4 separate regions of the Homo sapiens genome follow, and all the other regions are linked to region 1. The links are contacts of gene promoters, found by promoter capture Hi-C in blood cells and fetal thymus (Javierre and others, 2016). All regions are on one chromosome and are shown on one strand. The core of a region is centred on a gene start or on the middle of the fragment in contact, and the rest is flanking DNA. Distances in the headings are between cores, read along the strand shown.

Evidence for each region. The method cuts DNA at HindIII sites, captures the fragments that hold promoters and counts their contacts. A CHiCAGO score of 5 or more calls a contact.
Region 2: a contact is called between a fragment that was not itself captured here and the fragment with the promoter of DBX1 in region 1, in 2 of 17 cell types (activated CD4 T cells and non-activated CD4 T cells). The highest score is 7.0, in activated CD4 T cells.
Region 3: a contact is called between a fragment that was not itself captured here and the fragment with the promoter of DBX1 in region 1, in 3 of 17 cell types (fetal thymus, activated CD4 T cells and endothelial precursors). The highest score is 7.4, in fetal thymus.
Region 4: a contact is called between a fragment that was not itself captured here and the fragment with the promoter of DBX1 in region 1, in 8 of 17 cell types (activated CD4 T cells, naive CD4 T cells, fetal thymus and 5 more). The highest score is 11.6, in activated CD4 T cells.

Annotation. Positions count from the first base shown.
Region 1 is chr11:20,159,113-20,161,812 of GRCh38, reverse strand. DBX1 (developing brain homeobox 1) reads left to right here and starts at 1,338. Exons shown (of 4, transcript NM_001029865.4): 1 at 1,338-1,855; 2 at 2,521-2,622. The coding sequence starts at 1,489. RefSeq lists enhancers at 1-456, 457-958. The HindIII fragment of the contact is 3,864 bases long and covers 1-2,700 here.
Region 2 is chr11:20,382,847-20,385,546 of GRCh38, reverse strand. It overlaps HTATIP2 (HIV-1 Tat interactive protein 2), which reads right to left. Exons shown (of 5, transcript NM_001098522.2): 5 at 1,765-2,567. The coding sequence ends at 2,342. Among named protein-coding and RNA genes, the nearest start is that of PRMT3, 3.5 kb to the left of the region's middle. RefSeq lists an enhancer at 3-504 and a silencer at 437-637. The HindIII fragment of the contact is 764 bases long and covers 1,059-1,822 here.
Region 3 is chr11:20,332,048-20,334,747 of GRCh38, reverse strand. No RefSeq gene overlaps it. Among named protein-coding and RNA genes, the nearest start is that of HTATIP2, 30 kb to the left of the region's middle. The HindIII fragment of the contact is 4,082 bases long and covers 1-2,700 here.
Region 4 is chr11:20,349,299-20,351,998 of GRCh38, reverse strand. No RefSeq gene overlaps it. Among named protein-coding and RNA genes, the nearest start is that of HTATIP2, 13 kb to the left of the region's middle. The HindIII fragment of the contact is 2,107 bases long and covers 204-2,310 here.

The DNA.
Region 1 (2,700 bases), core at 89-2,588:
ATGGGACATTTAACACATCTGTTATCTCGCCGAACAGAGAAATGGGGGGAATCGAGTCTTAGTACCACCTCAGCCCCAACCAGAGGAAAGCGAAGGGACTGTCTCCAGGAAGATTCTCCTTTGAAGCCCCACATTCAGGGGAGGCTTTCCCGGAGTGGACCAACATTCTTGGGAACCGCATCCCTTCCCTCTGGTTTTCACGCGTTTGTGCGTTGTAGTTAATTAAGAAGCTGCCAAACCTTGGGCCAAGTTAAGGGCCCCGCAAGTGGTAGGGTTCTCTCCAGACGACGTCTGGACCTTCGCTGCTATGGCTTAAAATGTCAGGGCTGTGAGTTTCAACTTAAACTGCCGAGAGCTCCCTGTGTTTGGAGAACGGCCAGCATAGCACTCACAGCCTTTGGATACCCTTGCCCGAGGCAGTTTCCGGTCAGCCTAAGCTCTTTGCAAGCGGAATCCTGCCGCTCGGCAGCCCAGCGCCGCTCTCCTCCGCTCCTCCCGCAAGGTGAGGTGCGGACAGCCCCTTGCAGAAACTCCTAGAGAAAATCGTTTTCCAAGTTGCTGGGAATTTGAAGGAGACTCGTTTTACTTTTCAGGTATCCACCAACGCTCAAACTCAACCAGTCTCCCGAAATGAAATAACTCCAGACCTCTCCCCACTCTTACGGACACACATCCAGTGGCCCCAAAGCATCCGTTTCCAAGTTTCCCTGAGTCGTCAGAATGGGACTTCTAACACTGATTTCACTCACCCCTACATTTGCTTTATGCTTCAGCTGGAGTAACGGATAGGGCTAGAGACCGGAAAGGGAGTATATTTTCATGTCCACTGACTTGAAACTTTTCATTGCCCTACCCCCACAAGAGGGAGGGCAACTTTGCTGATAGCCTGAAGATGTATTTCTATGAATATTTATTGATTTATTTTCCAGGCTTAGCAGGGGAGCTGCAAATAAATTTAGTGGGTTCTTTAAATAATTCCTTTTCTATGAGGCAAGATGTCATCTGAAACTTCTAAATAGGCATTTAATTAGCCCGGGTGTTGCTTCGGAACAAAAACCTTTGGCGAGAGCTTTGGGGGCGCACTGTATTGCAAAGAGGCGGTCGATATGCAAAATTGATGCGCGCGGGCCTTTGTTGCCGGCCCATTGTGCGGGCCATGCTTATGAAGACTAATCCAATCATAAATTGCACCCCTGCGCCAATCAGAGAGTCCAGAGCCTCCGGCGAATGAAGCTCGAGTGGAGAACTTTGTTGAACTTCATTGTCAGAGCTGTCACTTTTCAAAGTGCTTTAGCGGGCGGGCCACTATAAAACCATCACCTCGACGAGAGGACCACGGAGGACTCGCAGACGCCCAAGTGGGATTGTTACTTGGAGACGTTTGCTAAGCCCAAGAGAGAGGACACTGTGGGGGCGGGAGGGGCGGGAAGCGAGGCGTTTACCCTCCGGCCACTGAAAGAAGGGTTATTTCGCCCGCCCGCGCCTACCATGATGTTCCCCGGCCTCCTCGCGCCCCCCGCCGGGTACCCTAGCCTCCTGCGGCCCACGCCCACCTTGACGCTGCCCCAGTCCTTGCAGTCGGCATTTTCCGGCCACTCCAGCTTCCTGGTGGAGGATCTGATCCGCATCAGCCGACCCCCCGCCTACCTGCCCCGCAGCGTGCCCACCGCCAGCATGTCGCCGCCCAGGCAGGGGGCCCCCACGGCCCTCACCGACACGGGGGCCTCGGACCTGGGCTCCCCGGGTCCCGGCAGCCGACGGGGCGGCTCTCCGCCGACTGCCTTCTCCCCTGCCAGCGAGACGACGTTTCTGAAGTTTGGAGTGAACGCCATCCTCTCCTCGGGGCCCAGAACAGGTAAGCGAGGTCAGAACCCTAAGGGCCCATTCAGGTACTAGGCATGCGCGGAGTCATCCTGGCCTCAGTTTCCTCTAGCGAGCGGGCCCCCACACACACATCGGTGCACACACAATACGCACGAACTCTGAGACCCTACGTCAGGCAATGTGAGAATAGTCCAGTCAATTCCGGGGAAGAAAAGCCTCCAGGCTCGCCCCATCCTCGGAGTGAACTTGAGCACACGCAGTCGGAGACTGTGCGCAGTCATCTGGTGCAGTAACGCTGAGCGCACGCTCCTGGACGTCTGCGTTTCTGCCTTCGAGCTTCTAGGAGACAGTTTTTTTTTTTAAACTCAATATGATATATTTATTGGATTAGCAAATATTATAAATCTGCAATTTCTTTCCTCCCCACTCAGTCCTATCTCGTTAGTGCCTAGGATGGAGATTGGGGTAGAGTGGGACGGCGCAGAGAATTACGTTGGGGAGAAAGAAAAGAGTTTTACAGATAAGACAATGTTGGGAAGATTTATTTTACCCTGTCAACGTATAAGAAAGATGTCTTTGAAACCAGATGAAGGGCTAATTATATCGTGTGTTCAGTGTGCTATACAATAGGCAAGTACGTAATCAGATTCTTTCTGTCTCCCTCTCTCCTTCTGTCCCCCCTCCATCGCCCACCAGAAACATCCCCAGCCTTGCTCCAGAGCGTCCCTCCCAAGACCTTCGCCTTTCCCTACTTCGAAGGGTCTTTTCAGCCTTTCATCAGATCTTCTTATTTCCCAGGTAGGTCTCGTCCCCCTTCTTTGCGCGAGGCAGGGCGGCGCCCCAGCCCCGGCCCATCGCTCCCTGCTCCGAAGCCGT
Region 2 (2,700 bases), core at 191-2,690, 220 kb before region 1:
CTGCAACCTCCACCTCCCAGGTTCAAGCGATTCTCCTGCCTCAGCCTCCCAAGTAGCTGGGATTATAGGTGCTCACCACCATGCCTGGCTAATTTTTATATTTTTAGTAGTGACAGGGTTTCACCATGTTGGTCAGACTGGTCTTGAACTCCTGACCTCAAGTGATCTGCCCACCTCGGCTTCCCAAAGTCCTGAGATTACAGGCGTGATTGACCGCACCCGGCCCAAATATTAATTTTGAAGCTTTCTTACATCCTAGGACATTGCCAGAATAGCTGCTGGCTCTCTTGAGTTGGAGTCATCGTTCATGGATGCATCCCCAGTGCCTGTGTGCTCAGTGGCACATGAAAGGCACTGAATAAGCATTTGCTGAATGAATTAATGAACACTTGATTACCTGGGCCCATCCAACTTTTCCCTTCATCCTTCCAACATAAACTTTTTCTGTCTGTGTAACATTTGGTGGAAAACTTCCTGAATCCCTTAGTACTAAATGGAACACCCAGTCCATTCAGTGTTGACAATAAAACAAGTTAACACCCATTGTGGAGGAGTGATTGGGCCAGAGTCTTGTTCCTTAGTAAGTTCATATCTCACCACAATGCAGAGCTCAAGAGAGGGCTGCTTTTCTCTCTACTCCAAAGGTGAACACAGACCCTTCCTCATTATCCCACATCACTACTGAGACCAGAATAACATGTTGAATGAAACCTGCTCGAAGGTTTGTGAGTAAGGAAATAATATAAGGAGAATAACTTAAAACAGGCCACTGGGTTTAGCTGCTTTCAGAGCCCAGAGGCCTCAACATATCCTCGGCCCATGCTTTTTCACCATCAAAACAACACACTTAGGCTCTTCAAAGTCCAACTCCCAGGGAACCCCACCTGGCAGAAGGAAGATATTTCATTTCCTTTTAAAGCTCACATTTCAATATCCCACCCTGCCCTAAAATATGCCTCTTTTTTGGGTGACTGACACTGGGAATGTCTTCTCCCTTCTAAGGATATACACTCCAAATTAAGGAGAATGGCCTTTATCCTCCAGTGTATACTGAAGCTTGAAATGTACTTGGCATACAGTAGGCCTTGGAAGAATTGACTGAGTCCCTCGAATCACTTTGCTTCCCTGGTGCAGACGTTAAGACAAGTTACATTAACATCTTTTGTTCTATGATGGAAATTAGCAATGTATGTTCCTCTTGGCTTTGACCCTTCCTTCTGCATCTTCCTTTGCCTTAATTTTTAAAGTGCAGCAGCATGAGCACTTTAAAGTTTGGTGGCATAGAATTTTACTGGCTATGTGAACATTTAGTAATTAATCACTAGAACAAAGGAGAAACCCAAATATTTCGATTTTGTTCATCCACAACATGTAGTAACAATCAACTGGAACTACCTGGAAATATACGGGAACAGAATGCTTTTGCAGGGTGCTTAAAAACACGATATATGGGATCTATGGGATCAGGCAGACCTGGGTTAGAATCCTGACTCTGCCATTTCTTTGCTTCAGTTCTTCAGATTTGGACTCTTGAGCAAGGCACTTAACCACAGTGAGCCTCATTTCCCCATCTAAGACATGAAGATCATGATAGTATCACTTTATAAGGATTGTTTATAAGAGGGTTAAAGCACAGATAACACATGTAAAGACTGGTACTTAGCAAGCATTTGGTAAATATTAGCTGCTATTATATCACCCCATAGGCTGAAATGCTGCATATCACACTACATGGGCATTTTCAAGCAATCTAAGAGGCACCCAGGAGTTGTCCATTCATCTTTATTCCTTTATTTAATCCTCCCCATGTATTATATAAGCTTAGGTATATAACTTCTATTACATAAAGAAGTAGTAAAGGCACAATGTTTACTTACACAATTACATGTAGTGAATTAGCACTTTTGTAACTCAGAGACATGAATGTCAACAATTTTAGAGCAGAGCTCATTTGCACGGTCATAAGGTTTTCATGGCTGCTGTGACTCTGCAGACAAGCATTTCAAAGCAGGCCCCCCAGCCAGTGGCATCGGAACCAGTGGCATCAGGGGAAGTATAAACAAAGAAAATTACAGATTATTGTGCCCACACCCCAGAAATTTTGATTCAAGTTTGAGATAGGGCTGACAAATCTTTATTTTTCCAAAGCTCCCTGAGTGATCTATATGTATAACCAGGCTCTGAACCACTGATGCAGAGCACCATCATTTCTTGATTGGAATGGATGCCTGAGGATAGTAAAACAACAAAGTTAAAACATGCTGACTTTTTTTAGACCCTGAAATTACCGATTTGGTGATGGGTGTTAAGGTTGACAATAAAAACCATTTCTCCAATGTGGTCATGGCTTGAGAGAGCCATGCGCTTTCCCCAGGTCATGGATGGCCTTGTTCTCCAGCAGTTCCATCTGCTTGTCTCTTGGTCTCACCACATTGTTCAGCATTGCTCTAACCACGGTCACCACAGGCACAGAATGCCCACTGGCCCAAGAGTCTGGTAAGGAGCCAAAGAACTTTCTAACCAGCCATTCACCTGGGCGAGATTCTTGCCTATCACATAACAGAACTCTAAAATAAAAAAAAAAAAAAAAGAAAGAAAAGCAGAGGAAGAGGTGGTAAATTGCACTGAGACCACAGTGGGCATTACGGACAAAACTGTATCCCCTCAATATTCTAATGTTGAAGCCCTAATCCCCAAGGT
Region 3 (2,700 bases), core at 188-2,687, 170 kb before region 1:
TGACATGATCTCAGCTCTCTGTAACCTCCACCTCCCAGGTTCAGGCGACTCGCCTGCTTCAGCCTCCCGAATAGCTGGGACTACAGGCATGCGCCACCACGTCTGACTAATTTTTGTATTTTTAGTAGAGACAGGGGTTTCACTATATTTGCCAGGCTGGTCTCGAACTCTTGACCTCAAGTGATCTGCCCGCCTTGGCCTCCCAAAGTGCTGGGATTTCAGGTGTGAGCCACCGCGCCCAGCCGAAGACTCTATTCTTATCTTACTAATTGATTTCAAGAGTTTACTAACACAGATGTTTAAGTTCTTTCCCAGAGCCCAAAGTGAATCTGATATTTTTGTAGTAGTCTCCACAAACTTCCAAATGTGTACACCATGCTGTTGTAGAAAGAGCACTGAACTTGGAAGCAAAAGACCTGGATTTGACACTTCCTATTTGACCTTTGACAACTCCTTAATCTTTCTTGGGTTCAGTTTCCTTATTGGAACAGTGAAGCTAGTAATTCTTCACTAATCTATCTCAAAGGAAGTTGTGAGAATCAAATGAACAAAGATATGTAAAAACACATAACAATTGTAAAGTTGCAGACTTTTAAGTCTCATGATATTTAGGAAGTATAGAAAGAAGTAAAACTTTAGGTCTTAAGTATTTATTTTGCTACGGATTTTGGTTATGATTGTTTTCAGTTTACATTAGACATACCCTTTATGCAGGGGTCTGATCCCCAGGCCTAACATCTACAAAATTTCAACATCCATCCATCGCTTAGATTCTTTTTAAGCATATTGGGAGCTGTGAAGTCATATAAATTAAGCTGTTGCAAAAATGGTTAGTGCTATTCTATTAAGAATTACAGTGAACCACCTGTTTCAGAAAATCCTGAGGCTACATTGTTTAATGAGGGCTAGGCTGAGTAGTTTTTCTTGGAAACTATAAGGCATATCCTTTATGAATGAATCTAGTTTGCAAGGAACTTGACTACACAGAGAATCATCTGATCCTAACATGGTAGTCAGCATCCCCAACTCAAAAGACCATATTGAAATCAAAGAAGCAAGGAGAGTATCTGCCATTTGTATAGTGCAGTTTTCTAAGTTCTTCCATATATTACAAATAGAATGTGTAATATGACTTACATCATTGGAATAATCTCAGTAATTTGAGAAGTGGCAACAAAAAGTAAGGAAGTAAATGTCATAAGTTCAACCACTTAAATATCTTAAGGCAAAACTGTAGGGAGATTAAAAACACAGATGTAAAAAGTGTGTATCCAAACTCAGGTGTGATACTAACATCCATCAGAATACAAAGCTGTACCATTTATGCAATGGAGTGGAGATTTGTACCTTCTCCTCATTTGTTTCCTTTTTCTCATTCTAACTTTCCTTTGGAAAACCATCACTCATTGCCTAGCATCCATACACTTTGGGTGTTATAGACGTTATACTTTGGTCCTGGGGTGGGCTCTGATTGCTCTCAATCAATCTGGTTGATCCTTACTTCTTTGACATTATTCAGGATTGGTCTAAGCACAGTGAAACTCAGACCTGTGTTTGAAGGATGCGTAAAGCATCCTCTTTTCCAGGATGTGAAGGAGAAAGCCCAGTCTTCTGCTGTCAGCTATCTTAAGACTATGCCTGAAGCCCACCTAATGATAAGTTCACCCACACTGAAGAGCAGGGTGGAGAGGTGTGTGGAGAAAAGAGGTGAAGCCTAAACCATCTCATGGCTTATCAAGTATGAAAGCCAACACATTTTCTGCATATTTAAGCTACTTTGAAATGGATTTTCTCTTACTTGCAACCTAAATCACCCTAAATGATATATTTAATATACAAAGCACTTTTTGGTTTTGTTGTTGTTGTTTTGCTTTTTGAGGCAGGGTCTTTCTCTGTGTTATCTAGGCTAAGTGTAATGGTGTATCACTGCTCATTGCAGCCTCAACCTGCTGGTCTCAAGCGATCTTCCCACCTCAGCCCCCCAAGTAGCTGGAACTACAGATGCATGCCACAAAGCCCAGGTAATTTAAAATTTTTTTGTAGAGATGGGGTCTCACTATGTTGCCCAGGCTGGTCCTGAACTCCTGGGCTCAAGTTATCCTTCTGCTTTGGCCTCCCAAAGTGCTGGGATTACAGGTGTGAGCCACCATCCCCAGCCATAAAATACTTTTGCATCATATATTGCGTAATTGTACATTCACAATGACTCTGTAGAGTGGGTTTCACTGTTATTCCCATTTTACAGAAGAGGAAGGGAATCTCAGAGGTTTATGACCTGCATAAAGGCCATACCAGGCAAGTGTTGGAGCCAGAAATTGAATCAGGTGTTCTAGCCTAAGAGCAATTGCTTTCTGCTCTACCACGTCATGTTGAAAAGCCAAATTAAAGGCAGATTTTTGGGTTTTTATGACCTAGGAAGCATATAAGATTGTTTAATTATTAATATTATTAAAAATGGCAGGCACAAATTATAAAACTTAAAATCTGAATCTTTTGTTTGCAGCAGTGGTTGGATTCCTTAATTTAAAAAATCCTTTTGACATATGGGCCCTAACCTGTGGTCTGAGTATGCTGTAACTTTCATTGACTATACTGTAGTTTTAGCTCTGTACTGTACAACCAGGCAGCAATGATGATCTTCCGTTATGTGAAAGCTGGGATTATACACCTTTATGGTTAGTGCTACTAGCCCTGCAGTTA
Region 4 (2,700 bases), core at 8-2,507, 190 kb before region 1:
AGGAAGAAGAGTCTAGAGACTGAAAGGCAGACAGCCAGGAGGAAAAGACATGGAATGTTCCTTGAGGCTAAATTCCCTCTTGGCAATGACATTAGAAGAGCTGAGCTAAGAAACATATTTTTCTCCCAGTTTAAAAGAAAGCTGGGGAGAAGGGCTGAGGAATGAATGCCTTATTCAGTCGTCTCAGATTGTGAGCAGAAGCTTGGGTGGGTGCAGGTGAACATCCCACTAGAAAGCAAACTCCATGAAGACAGGAGTTGTATCTGTTTGGTTCATTACTATATTCCTGCCACCTGGATTAGTGCCTGGCACTTGGCGGATGCTCAGTAAATATTGAGTAAATATATCGAGACACTCCTTAGAGTAGGGAAAAGTGCAAACCTATTTTTGGAGCTTGGGGAATGCAAAAATAAATTTTAATGAAATTATATATATTTTCTTAAAAATTCATGCAAATTTTATGCTGTGTCATCTATTGGTGTTTATTTTTACATCAATGAGTGACAACACTTGTAGCAGACAGCTGTACTGTTTTATCCAGCATCGATTCCTTATTTCCTTTGTGGCCCGCCCCTTCCCATTCCCCGTCCTGCAGGTGACTCTAGCAGCAATTCTACTTTCAACTCTAAGGCTGGGCCTATGATTCACTTCTAGCCAGTCTGAACGTTTCCTTCCCCGACAACAGCGATTGTTTTAGGGTTAGGCACATTACTCAATCAGACCTCATGTGACATAATTCCTATTTGGCTGTTAACCATGAAAAGAGATGCACTGTCTTCCCTACTGGACCTGGACCTGTGCGGGTATTTGTCTGTGTAGGAGAGGAAAACCAACCTTTCCTTCTATCCTTCTAAGTTCTTAGCTGAAGCCCCTATAACCAAGGACAGATTAACAAGAGAAAGTCATATGAATGTATTTAAGATGTTTTATGTGACATGGAAGCCTTCATTAGGAAATAAAGACCCAAAAAGGAGGTTAAAGACAGTCCCAATAAAAATATGAGCCGTCAGGTTTTAGCTCTCCGTGGTGCCATTTTAGGAGGCTAGAGAAAAATGTGAAACATTAATTTGAAGAGCTGTAGACAGATATTGGAGGAAACTAGAAGATTCAGGACTCAGTTTATAGGTAGATAACAAAACCTTAAAGACAATGAACAAGACTAAAATGGAATACTCACAAAGCTGTGCTACAGGTTTCCATTGAAACATAATTTTTCTCTCTACAATCACCTCCATTTCTCTAAAAAATAATCAAAGTGAAACTAATTTGTTTGCAAAAGGAGCCTAGTCTCATTAAACTTGGTCGGATTGTTGACAATACTACAGCAAGAATAGTGACTGACCACATAGGTCCCTTTCTTTTAGTTCGCTTTGCTAAAACTTTGCATAAAAAAATCTCAGATTAGACTTTTAAAAGCCTCTTAAGGCTAGGAAGCCATGCCAGGGACTTGCCATCAGACCTTGCCTGCAATCTCTGCATATTTAGGCAAATTCCTCTTTTCTTAAGGTTCCCCCAATATTATGAAGTTCCTGGGCCTGCAAGAACTGAAAAGACAACATGAAGCACAGGAAATTATTTTGATCAGACACAAATCTTTGTTTGCTAGGCAGGTTACTTAAAAGGTAAAGAAAAGCCATTTTACAATTTCTTTTTAAGAGAAGACCCATAATCCAAAAAACCATCATTTTACTGTTGCATCATACATTTATGACACTAACATTCTTTTTTTCCCTTTTTCTTTTCTTTTCTCTCTTTCTTTCTTTTTTTTTTTTTTTTTTTTTTTTTTTTTTTTTTGGAGACAGGGTCTTGCTCTGTTGCCCAGCCTAGAGTACAATGACACAATCACTGCTCACTGCAGCCTCACCCTTCCAGGCTCAAGCGATCCTTCCACCTCAGCCTCCTGAATAGCTGAGACTGTCGGAATGCACCACCACACTTGGCTAATTTTTTTTACTTTTTATTTTGTAGAGATGGGGTCTTGCTATGTTGACCAGGCTGGTCTCAAACTCCTTGTCTCAAGTGATCCTTCCACCTCAGCCTCCCAAAATGCTGGGATTACAGGCGTGAGCCACCATGCCAGCCTCATCTCACATTTCTTATAGGTATATGCTGTTTCCTCATAGTACAATTTCTCATATTTATTAGCAGACTCAAATATATTTAGATTCTCTATACTGCATAAAAACAAGATGACAGAAGTATACAAACTTAAACTTATATTCAGCAATTAATGTTTCATTGTTTCATCTTATTTGGAAATGATCTAGATGTTCAATGAATACTCATAATTTAACTTAACTTACTAAAGCTTTAAGGTTTCAAATTACCAAAAAGAGTGGAAACTATTTTTAAGTAGACATATTAAAAACCATAATTTATACATCATAATTATTGCTGAAAAGTTCATTTACAAACTTTTATCCCACTTACAGTAATTCACTTGTTCTTAGTAATTATGCTTGAATTGCTCATGAAAATTTCATGAGATATTAAACACAGCCATCACCTCAAATTATTTTTTGTTTTTGCTGACAAATCAGGCAAATATCAAAAATATCACAGGAGCAAAGAACCTAAAAAGTTAAACATATAGCTTTTTAAAATTTTACTGCTGTACTTGATATATGTCAAGCAATTCATTTTTATTGTATATTTTGTTCTGAGGTTGGATTTATAGTCTTACAATCTTAACTAACCCAG